Linked DNA regions of Homo sapiens: region 1 is linked to region 2. Evidence: promoter capture Hi-C in 16 types of primary human blood cells and fetal thymus (Javierre and others, 2016). All regions are on one chromosome and are shown on one strand. Each heading gives the region's core, a stretch centred on a gene start or on the middle of the fragment in contact. The rest is flanking DNA. Distances are from core to core; before and after follow the strand shown. Region 1 holds the start of LOC124902030 (a long non-coding RNA gene). Region 2 holds the start of DENND3 (DENN domain containing 3).

Region 1 (7,029 bases), core at 3,614-6,113, 92 kb after region 2:
ACTCAGGGAGTGTAGACTACACATAGAATGGCCTCACTGAAGGCCGAGGGAGCTGGGGCATTTATCCACCAACTTCTGTCCCTCACTGGTTGAGGGCGCTTCTGGGGGAGTGTGAACCGCTCAGGACTTCCTGCATGCCCTGCCCCAGGGCCTGCCAGCTTCTGCAGCTAGAAAAGGCCTCAGGTGGCCGGGCGCAGTGGCTCACACCTGTAATCCCAGCACTTTGGGAGGCCAAGGCAGGCGGATCACCTGAAGTCAGGCGTTTGAGACCAGCCTGACCAATATGATGAAACCCCATCTCTATTAAAAGTACAAAAATTAGCCGGGCGTGGTGGCATGTGCCTGTAGTCCCAGCTACTCAGGAGGCTGAGACAGGGGAATCGCTTGAACCCAGGAAGCGGAGGTTGCAGTGAGACAAGATTGCGCCATTGCACTCCAGCCTGGGCAACAAGAGTGAAACTCTGTCTCAAAAAAAAAGAAAAGGCCCCAGGCAGAGACAACCCTGCAATAACCTCCTAATCGCCTTCCATCAGGGTACAGGAAGGGCCAAGCAGTGGGAAATCCAGGAGCAGACACTGGTGTTGGGCATGAGAGTGGCATGATTCAGGAGGATGTGTACAGGCAGCTGCTAGCCAGGCACAGGGCTGGCCATAGAGCAGGACTCTTTAGGGGACGGCAAGGGGGCAACCTGGGGGCAAAACTCCAGGCTCAGAGAGGATTTGAGGGATCTGGGTGGAGCCAGCTGGATGGCAGGAGTCGGGAGGGCTGTGTTTTTTCCTGGCCAGGAGACCCGGTGGGTGGGGTGCATTGGAGCAGAGAAGGATGGGCTGTGGGGCCTTGACCAAGCCGAGCACAGATCATGTCCCAAGGGCAGAGCCAGGAGAATCCAGGGCAAGTCCTGAGTGCTAGGATGAGACCCCATATTGGTTAAGACATTTCTCCAAAGAAGATGTGCGAGTGGCCAAAAAACACAAAAAAGATGCTCAGCATCATTAGTCATCAGGGAAATGCAAACCAAATCCACAGTGAGATGCCAGGTCGGGCCCATTAGGAAGGCTACTATCAAAGGAGAAAAGTGAGTGCTGGCTAGGATGTAGGGAAACTGGAATCTCTGCCAGGCCAAGTGGCTCACGCCTGTAATTCCAGAACCTTGGGAGGCTGAGGTGGGTAGATCCCTTGAGCTGAGGAGTTCAAGACCAGCCTGGGCAACATGGTGAGACCCCATCTCTACTAAAAATACAAAAAAGATAGCTGGCCGTAGTGATGCACACCTGTGGTCCCAGCTACTCAGGAGGCTGAGTTGAGAGGCCTGCTTGAGCCTCAGAGGTCGAGGCTGCAGTGAGCTGTGATTGCACCACTGCGCTTGAGCCTGGGTGACAGAGCGAGACCCTGTCTCAAAAAAGAGAAAGAAATTCGAATCTTTGTGCACTGTTGCAGGGAGTGGCAGGTGGTGTGGCTGCTGTGGAAAGCAGTACGGTGGTTCCTCAAAAACTCAAAATAGAACTACCATATGATCCAGCAACCCCGCTTCTTGGTTCATATCCCACAAAACTGAAAAAGGGACTCTCACAGATATTTGCACACCCATGTTCATGGCAGCATAATTCACAATAGCGCAAAGGTGGAAGCAACCCAGGTTTCCATCTACAGATGAATGGATCAACAAAATGTAGAATATATCAAACAAAACATGATTCAGCCTTAAAAAGTATGAAAATTCTGTCCACGCTACCACATGAATGAACCTTGAGGACATTATGCTTTTGAATTAAGCCGGCTAGGAAAGGACAGATGCTGTATGAGTCCACTCACATGAGGTGCCTGGAGGAGTCACATTCTTGGAGACAGAAAGCAGAACAGTGGGTGCCAGGGACTGTGGAGAGGAAGGAAGGGGAGTTAGTGTTTAAAGTGGGGATGGAGTTTCAGTTTGGGAAGATGAAATCGTTCTGGAAATGGATGGTGGCGATGTGCGTACAACACCAGGAATGTACTTAATGCCACTGAAATGTACACCTAAAAATGATGAAGATGGTAAATTTTACGTTACACATATTTTACCACAGTTAAAACAACAACTGTAATTGTTTTATTATTTTTCACAATCCCTGTGGGTGATGAGTTTGGGAAGGGCTTGGTTGGGGATTCTGGTTGGTTCTGGATGGTTCTGGGTGGTTTTGGCTTGAGGTCTTTCATCACACTCTTACCTCCTTGAAGGCAGGAACCAAGTCATAGTTATCTAACTGACTAACTGGCTCTTCCAGCCTGGGGGGCCTCTGGGAGCACTCAGACCCTGGACAGCCAGGCAGCAGAGGGGTTCAGGAGCCCAAGGCCCACTGCCAAGAAGGAAGTGCCAAACAATAGCCCCCAAGAGGCCTGCCACTCTCACAGCCAGATTTGCACTTCCAGGGACAAAGGAGATTTCCTCTGTAGGAAATGATACCTGAGGGAGGGCTTCCTGCGGGAGCAAGCCAAGAAGGGGCTGGGGAGGAGGAGAGCAGCGGGGAAGTGAGCTCTGGATACTCACGTCCCTGGTTCTGGGCACAAAGCCAGCCCACAGGCCACTAAGGGCCTGGCATATTCTACATGAGTCAGGCTCTGAGCCTGGAGGTCAGCGGCCAGGGGATTAGGGTCATGAAAACACTCCTTTAAACCCCGGCTCCCCGTGTACCCGCTGTGTGACATACAGCCCTCTCTGTAAAAGGGGGACAATGATGAATTCAGTGTTCACTGGGCATCTAGGCACTGAGGATAGGATTGCAAGACCCAGACCCAGGCTTGCCCTCAGGTACTTCACTGCCTTCCTAGGGAAAACCAACAAAAATAAACCAGCAGAGGCAAATAAAAACAAAACACCATGAAATCCGAGTGTGGGGTATTTGAAGGTGTTGATTCATCTCACCCCCTCACCTCTGCAATTGGAATTAATTAGGAAACAGAATCAGCAGGTGGTAAGGGCTGAAGTGTCAGCTCCGTGCTGGAAATGTGAAGCTGCTGGAGTTGTTCTGACTCATAACCAGATGGGCTCTTGCTCCTTCCTCCTGAATTAAACATAACCATCCCAGGAAGGGGCCGAGCAGGGCCAAACAGGGGCGGTGCCCACTAGGGGAGAGCTGGCCACGGGGAGCCATCCCAAGGGCCACAGGCAGGCTGGGCTTCCCGGACTCCTCAGACTCCCTCTCCCCAGGGAGTGACGGGGAGGGACCAGTGCTGTTCTGCCCCCACCCGTGGAGTCAGCCTGCCTCCAAGGAAACCCGAGGAGGGGGCAGAGGCGTCCCTATGGCAGTAACAAATGTCCTGAAGGACCCAAATAGAGGCTGAGATCTAGAGTGACGGGCTAGGGCAGGTGGTAACCAAGCCAGGAATGGGACGAGATGCCAGAACCAGCAGGTGGGTGGGTTTCTGGGTGTGTGTGTGTGTGGAGGGGTCTTTTCCAGAAAGATGGACTGCCAAGTGCACAGACAGAGGAGGAGACCCTGGTGAAGTCCCGGCCCAGAGCTCATCTCCATTGCGAGGGGCCTCAGGAAAGGGCGCCTTCCCAGCCGCTTCCCTGTCACCCTCTGCTTGGAGCTTGGAGCCAGGCCAAGGGGGAGGCCAGGAAGAGGAGTGCAGGGGAAACGGGGAGAAGGGGGGAAGACTGAGAACTACTTACTCAGGACCAGTCAGAGGGAGGGAGGGGAAGATGAAGGCTGGAAGCAGAGGGGCAAACGGTGGAGGCTCCACAGGTGGGGGTGAAGCTGGGGTGGAAGATGCGCCTGTCCCCAGGAGCTCTTGGTCTTGCTGCCAACTGACTGGGTGTAGTCGGTGGCTCACTCCGGGAATCCCAGCACTTTGGGAGGCTGAGGCGAGTGGGTCACGGGAGGTCAGGAGTTCGAGACCAGCCTGGTCATCACGGCCCCATCTCTACAAAAAAATACAAAAATTAGCTGGGCATGATGGTGCACGCCTGTAGTCCCAGCCACTTAGGAGGCTGAGGCACGAGAATCATTTGAACCTGCGAGGTGGGCAACAGAGCAAGACTCTTTCTCAAAAAAAAAAAAAAGAGGGAGCACGGGTAGCTGTGGAGTGATGGGTGGGCTCTTTGTAGGGCCCTCCCATCTCTGCAGTTGCAGAGCAGCCAGCTGTCCTCCCAGGTGAGGTGGGGTCCGATCATTGTCCCCATGTGTAACAGTCTGAATTGTGTCCCCCAGGAGATCTGTTCAAGTCCTAACCCCTTGGTTCCTGTAAATGTGACCTTATTTGGAAAAAGGTCTTTGCAGATGCAAGTGAAGGATCTTGAGCTGACATCATCCTGGCTTTAGGGTGAGCCTTAAATCCAATGATCGGCGTCCATATAAGAAGTGGGAAGACAGAGAGGGAAAGCCATGTGAAGGTGGAGGCAGGACAAGCCAAGGAATGCCAGGAGCTGCCAGGAGCCACCAGGAGCAGGAAGAAGTGGGGAGGATCCTGCCCCAGAGCCTTTGGCGGCAGCGGCCCTGCCGGCACCTGGACATTTGGCCTCCAGAACTGGAAGAATAAATTTCTGTTGTTTGAAGACACCCTGTTGGTGGTCATTTGTTACAAGAGCTTTGAAAACAAATATACCACAATAGCCCTTCCACGATCCTGCAAGCCTGCAAGCAGGTGACAGAAACGTAGGTCTCCTTGGCACCCCCATCCCATGGAGCTTGGCCAGCCACGGGGGCAGCATGTGGGAGGAGGCAAGGCAAACATATTCTAAAGGTGGCGCTCACCCTGGCTGGGCTGGAGGCTGATGAAGCTTCAGCCTGTGCTCCTGAGACAGCGGAGGCTCTCCCGGGCCCAGAGACCTGCAGACCTCAAGGGGAAGCAATCTCAGCGAAAGTGCTGCCTGCGGTCCGCGGTCAGGCAAGGAGGAAGTGGTGAGCGCGGCAGGAGCTCAAGGCCGGGACATGGGGGTGTGCCCAGCGAAGCGAACAGCAAAGGTGAATTTGCCGGGATGCTGATAAAGCTTACGTTTCTGCGCCCCCTCTAAAGCCCTGTACCTGCTTTTGTAGTTTTTTCTGGAAGGGGATGCCCCTCAGTTGTATCAGCATCGGATCCCACAAACCCTGGATCCCTCCCTGCTAACACCAGGGCCACAAGAGCACATCGCGCATGCAGAGCCAATTGTGTTGATGTTTTCTCAGGTTTTCTGTTGTCTGACCATCCAGCCAACCAGTTTTTTTATGCAGTCGTTCATCCAGCCCTCTACACAGCCAACCAATCTCCATGATTGAGTCTCTGCCACGGGACATACTCCCTGCTCTCAAGAGACTCATGCTTCGAGGCGGGGGAAAGGGGGCATAAATAAGAAGCAATTAAACTGGCTCTGCCATGAGGAGTGGGGGCAAGAGGTGAGCTGAAGGGAAGAACAGTGGAGGGAATGATTGCCTCAATCTGGAGGTCAGAACCGCCCTACCACGGAGATGACCTGAGTTTTGAAGGATGCGTAGAAGTCACCATCAGACAAGAGGGAGGGCAGCTCAGGCAGGGGAACAGCAGGGGCAAAGGTGTGGGACAGCACTGGGCACTTGGGGACTCACTGTGACTCAGCCTGTGACTCAGCCCTCCTGTGGCACCAGGGCTGCTGGATGGAAAGGGAAGAGCAGGGAAGGCCAGAGCCAGGCAGTGGGGAGCGAGGGCAGGAGGGGAGATGGGAAAGAGGGCCTCACGGAGTGTGCTGGTTTCCTGTGGCTGCCGTAACAAAGCACCATACACATGCGGGCTGAAAACAGCAGAAATGTATTGTTTTAGAGTTCTGGAGACTGAAGCCTGAAATCAAGGTGTTGCAGGGCCAGGCTCTAAGGGCAGAACCTTCCTGCCTCTTCCAGCTTCTGGTTTCAATCTTCAGCGTTCCTTGGCTTTCAGCTGCCCCACTCCAATCTCTGCCTCCAGTGTGGTGTTCCTGTGGGTCTCTCGTACCTCTTCTTATAAAGACACTCAGATAAGTTTAGGCCCCCCAATTGAGCCTAACGCGATTGCATCTACAAAGACCCTATTTCCAAATAAGGTCCTATTCACGGTTACTGGGAGCTGGAGCTTCAACAGATCTTTTGGGAAGACACAATTCAACTCACGACAGGGAGGAAGAATTGCGAGTACTTGCTACTGCTGTGATGCCGTGGAGTGAGCAGAAAGGTGAGGAGTTCCTGGGTTTAGGAGGAAGTTGGGATCCACACATGCTGACGTGGATGGCCCTGGTCAGGAGCTGAGGCCTCTAAGATGAGCTGGGCATGGTCGGTGGCTTACAGGGGCTCCTGGTCAAGCAGGGAGGCAGGAAGGAGCCCAGCCCTGCCAGGCACAGAGATGAGCATGTCTTGGGGACACAGGGCAGGGGCAGAAGTGGCCTGAGGGGGCAGCGCAGGCCCCAGAGAAGTACCTGTAGACTCGAGCCAAAAATGCTGTCATCGTCTCTGACTGATGGCTCCCGGGTGTGCCCATCCAGCCTGGCCTCTCCTGAGCACCTGGCTCCCGTGTGTATCCACCAGCTCAGTCCTCTCTGTCCCATCAAGCTCCGCACACCCTCAGCCAAATCCACCAGCCTCGCTTTCCAAAACAGCTCTTCCTGTCTTCCACCCTGGCCTCTTCAAGAAGGGCCCTCCCCGAAGTCCCTCAACCTGCCCTTGAGGGTGGCCTTCCCACAACTCCCCCAGCCTCCGCCTCCACCTAAGCCTTACTTTCACTTGTTCCCAGGGTCACCCAAAGCTTCCAAGGATTTAGGCAGCAAGTAAAAGAAAACAATCCTTGGTCTGGGCGTGGTGGCTCACGCCTGTAATCCCAGCACTTTTGGAGGCCGAGGCGGGTGGATCACGAGGTCAGGAGATCGAGACCATCCTGGCTAACATGGTGAAACCCCATCTCTACTAAAAATACAAAAAAATTAGCCGGGCGTCGTGGCGGGCGCCTGTAGTCCCAGCTACTCTGGAGGCTGAGGCAGGAGAATAGCGTGAATCCGGGAGGCGGAGCTTGCAGTGAGCCAAGATGGCACTGCACTCCAGCCTGGGTGACAGAGCAAGACTCCATCTCAAAAAA
Region 2 (2,700 bases), core at 201-2,700:
TCTGGCAAATTCGAGGTAGGGAGACAAATCAATCGATGACGTTGCGAGGAGACAGAGGTCAAACGGGATCTACTGACATGACAGGGCGTTGAAGGGAAGGAAAAGTTGAGGGAAACGAGGAAACTATTTCCATAGGAGAATGCTTTTTCACTGAAGTCGAAACTGGCTTGGTACTGACGCCCAGCAGGGGAAACTCCCCGGACACTCACAGACATTCATCTGGTTACTTGCAGGAACATCTGCCTTTCCTGGTGACACCCTCTGCCCTGCAGTCTTCATTTTCCCTGGATAGCCCAGCGTCATTTAAATACTCAGAAGCCTCTCTGCCTTTCTATGCTGTTGTCTGCAAAGAGATGAACGGACCTGTGCAGACGGCTGGCCAGTGACGCCGGGATCTCTAGGTAACATGACCCAGTCACGGTGTCACAGACAGGCGGACCAGGAGGAAACCAGAGACACAGATGGATTCCAGGGAAAGCCAGCGTTACAGAATTAAGAAAAGCTGGGGAAGAAAAAGGAAAACGAGAATTTCCAAAACTGCCGCTTTCCCAGCAGAAGGGAGATGAAGTTGTCACTTTGGCTGCGAGGGTGCAGAGATGGAGGAAGGGTTGGGGGTGGGGGTGGTACCGCAAGGGAGAAAAATAGCTATAGGCTTCATCGCAAAGGGGTTCATGCAGAATACGCGAGGCCGGCGGCTAACTCTAAGATTGCTCTCTCGTTATTCTGTGCCTGGTGCAAAACCCACTACTCAGGGGACAACACATCCCAGCATAAAGAATGAAATCATTTCAGCAGCGAGGGCTGGGCCCGCTAGACCGTGAGGCTCCGGCGGCTTCCGCCCGTTGTCTGGTGCACCCCACCTTCAGAAGCACCTGCCCAAGATGGGAGCGACTGAAGAGAGAGGCCCCAGAGACTCTCCGAGGGGCGGCACCCCCAGATTCCCGGCCGGCGGACCAAGTTCGCAGCTCTCAAAAGACATGTCTCACACCAAGGGCCCCGGGCGGGGAGAGGAGAGAAGAGGGGAGGGGAGCAGGGCGCTGCTCCAGGGCACCTGCCTGAGCTCGGGCGCGATCCCCGGCCACAGGCGCGCGGGGTCACCGCCGGGGGACCGGGACTCAGCCCTCGGAAAGTCCGCGCCAACCCACAGGGCACCCGGGCGCCCGCTCTCCGACTGCTGTCCCGGCTGCCGACTCGTGGCCCACGTCCGCCTCAGTTTCCCCGCCCCTCACCTGCTCGAGACTTCGGAGACTGTCCCGGGGGGCGCCCAGCAGCGCGCAGAGCTCCAGCAGCCCCGAGGGCAGCGACAAGTGCGGCGACGCGGCCTCCGCCATGGCTGCCCGCCGCCCGCCGCCAGTACCGCACTCGGGCGCCTCAGCCGCGCAGTCGCCCGCAGACCCCTGGGGACCAGCCGCGCCGCCTGGGGGCCGGGGGCGCTGCGAGCGCCGTCTGCGGGGCGGGGCTGGAGGCGGGGCCTGGAGGGGCGGGGCCCGAGCCGAGGCGGGGCCTGGAGAGCCCCAGAGGATACCGCGGGGAGACAGAGTTTGGGGGCGGGGCTTGACTGGGCGGGGAGGTTCTGGGCGGGGCCTGGAGTGGCGTGCCCGGCCCTAGGGACCGGGACTTGGGGGCGGGGCCGGTCCTAGGGCGGGTGCTGCTGGAGACCCGCGCGCGGTCGTCATTTCCTAACCCGCCTGCGGGCCCTGGCGCGTGCGCGGCGTCGGAGCAAGCGGCCCCTTCCTTCGGCCCCGCCCAGCCCCGCCGGCCGCCCGCTCCCTGGGGAACCGAGGGAGGAATGGGCGGGGTCCTCAGGTGCCCGGCGACGTCATCCAGCCCCCAAGGCTCCAGGACGCAAAGGGTCCCCTGATCTGGCAGTCCCTGGACCTACCCTGGAGAGCGTGGGGGGACAAAGGCCGGACGCGCCGCCCGCTGCCGCCTCCAGGAAGCCCTCCCTTGCCAGGACAGTGGAGTTGGCCGGGTGTGGACAGCAGGAAGGGCCGGCGGGAAGGGGGGGTGGAAAGAGCCACTCCTGGTTAATAACTCTGCGGGGTTAACCTAGGGCCGGCCATACTCAAGTACGGACTTGAGTAAAATTCAGCAGGAAAAGGAGCAGGGTGGGCGCCGCTAGAGGGAGGCTTCAGGACTGAGGGTCAGAGGCCCAAGGCCTGGCAGGGCCCTTCCCTGGTCAGCTCCAGGCTTGGCCTGATGCCCGGTGGGCCACGGGCCTCTTCCAGCCTCAGGCTGACCCCAGAGAAAGAGGACAGCCCACAAGCCCGGGAGGCCGGCTTGCTGCCTGGTCATTGCTGCAGAGCCTGGAGGGGGCCTGCGCTCAGTCCCCGCTGACCGTCCCCTCCCTTGACCCTGCCATAGCCATCTGTGTAACCCAGGGGAAATTATTCCAAAGGGACTTCCACTTCTGATAATCTATGATTCTATTTTCTAAAAAACAAAACTCTAAAATGCTTAATGTCAAACATCTGTCATCAGCTGAACAGGAAAAGGAACAGTAAGTACAAAGCAAGGCAACATCAGAAAAGGGAGCCCTGAGGAATTTCTCCCTCCTTCCCTGAGCCGGGTGAGGCCGTGACTGCAGCCTGACTCACAGGTTTTATTTCACTTATTAACCTAAAGATGGTGAGGATCTGCTGGTTCTCCCCCAGGCCTGGAGGCTGCCTACCATCGGTGGCTCTCATCGGTGAGCTGAGG

The links. Contacts are between HindIII fragments. The CHiCAGO score rates a contact against its expected background, and 5 or more counts as called.
Region 1: a fragment that was not itself captured here is called in contact with the fragment with the promoter of DENND3 in region 2 in 3 of 17 cell types (total B cells, naive B cells and monocytes); the score reaches 7.3 in total B cells.

Annotation. Positions count from the first base shown.
Region 1 is chr8:141,034,063-141,041,091 of GRCh38, reverse strand. It overlaps LOC124902030 (a long non-coding RNA gene), which reads left to right and starts at 3,055. Exons shown (of 2, transcript XR_007061121.1): 1 at 3,055-3,387; 2 at 4,188-4,535. RefSeq lists enhancers at 1,996-2,620, 2,621-3,246, 3,247-3,871. The HindIII fragment of the contact is 210 bases long and covers 4,759-4,968 here.
Region 2 is chr8:141,127,339-141,130,038 of GRCh38, reverse strand. It overlaps DENND3 (DENN domain containing 3), which reads right to left and starts at 1,450. Exons shown (of 23, transcript NM_001352890.3): 1 at 1,230-1,450. The coding sequence starts at 1,331. It overlaps DENND3-AS1 (DENND3 antisense RNA 1), which reads left to right. Exons shown (of 2, transcript NR_183310.1): 1 at 1-15. RefSeq lists enhancers at 359-1,189, 2,023-2,700 and a silencer at 1,045-1,904. The HindIII fragment of the contact is 7,380 bases long and covers 1-2,700 here.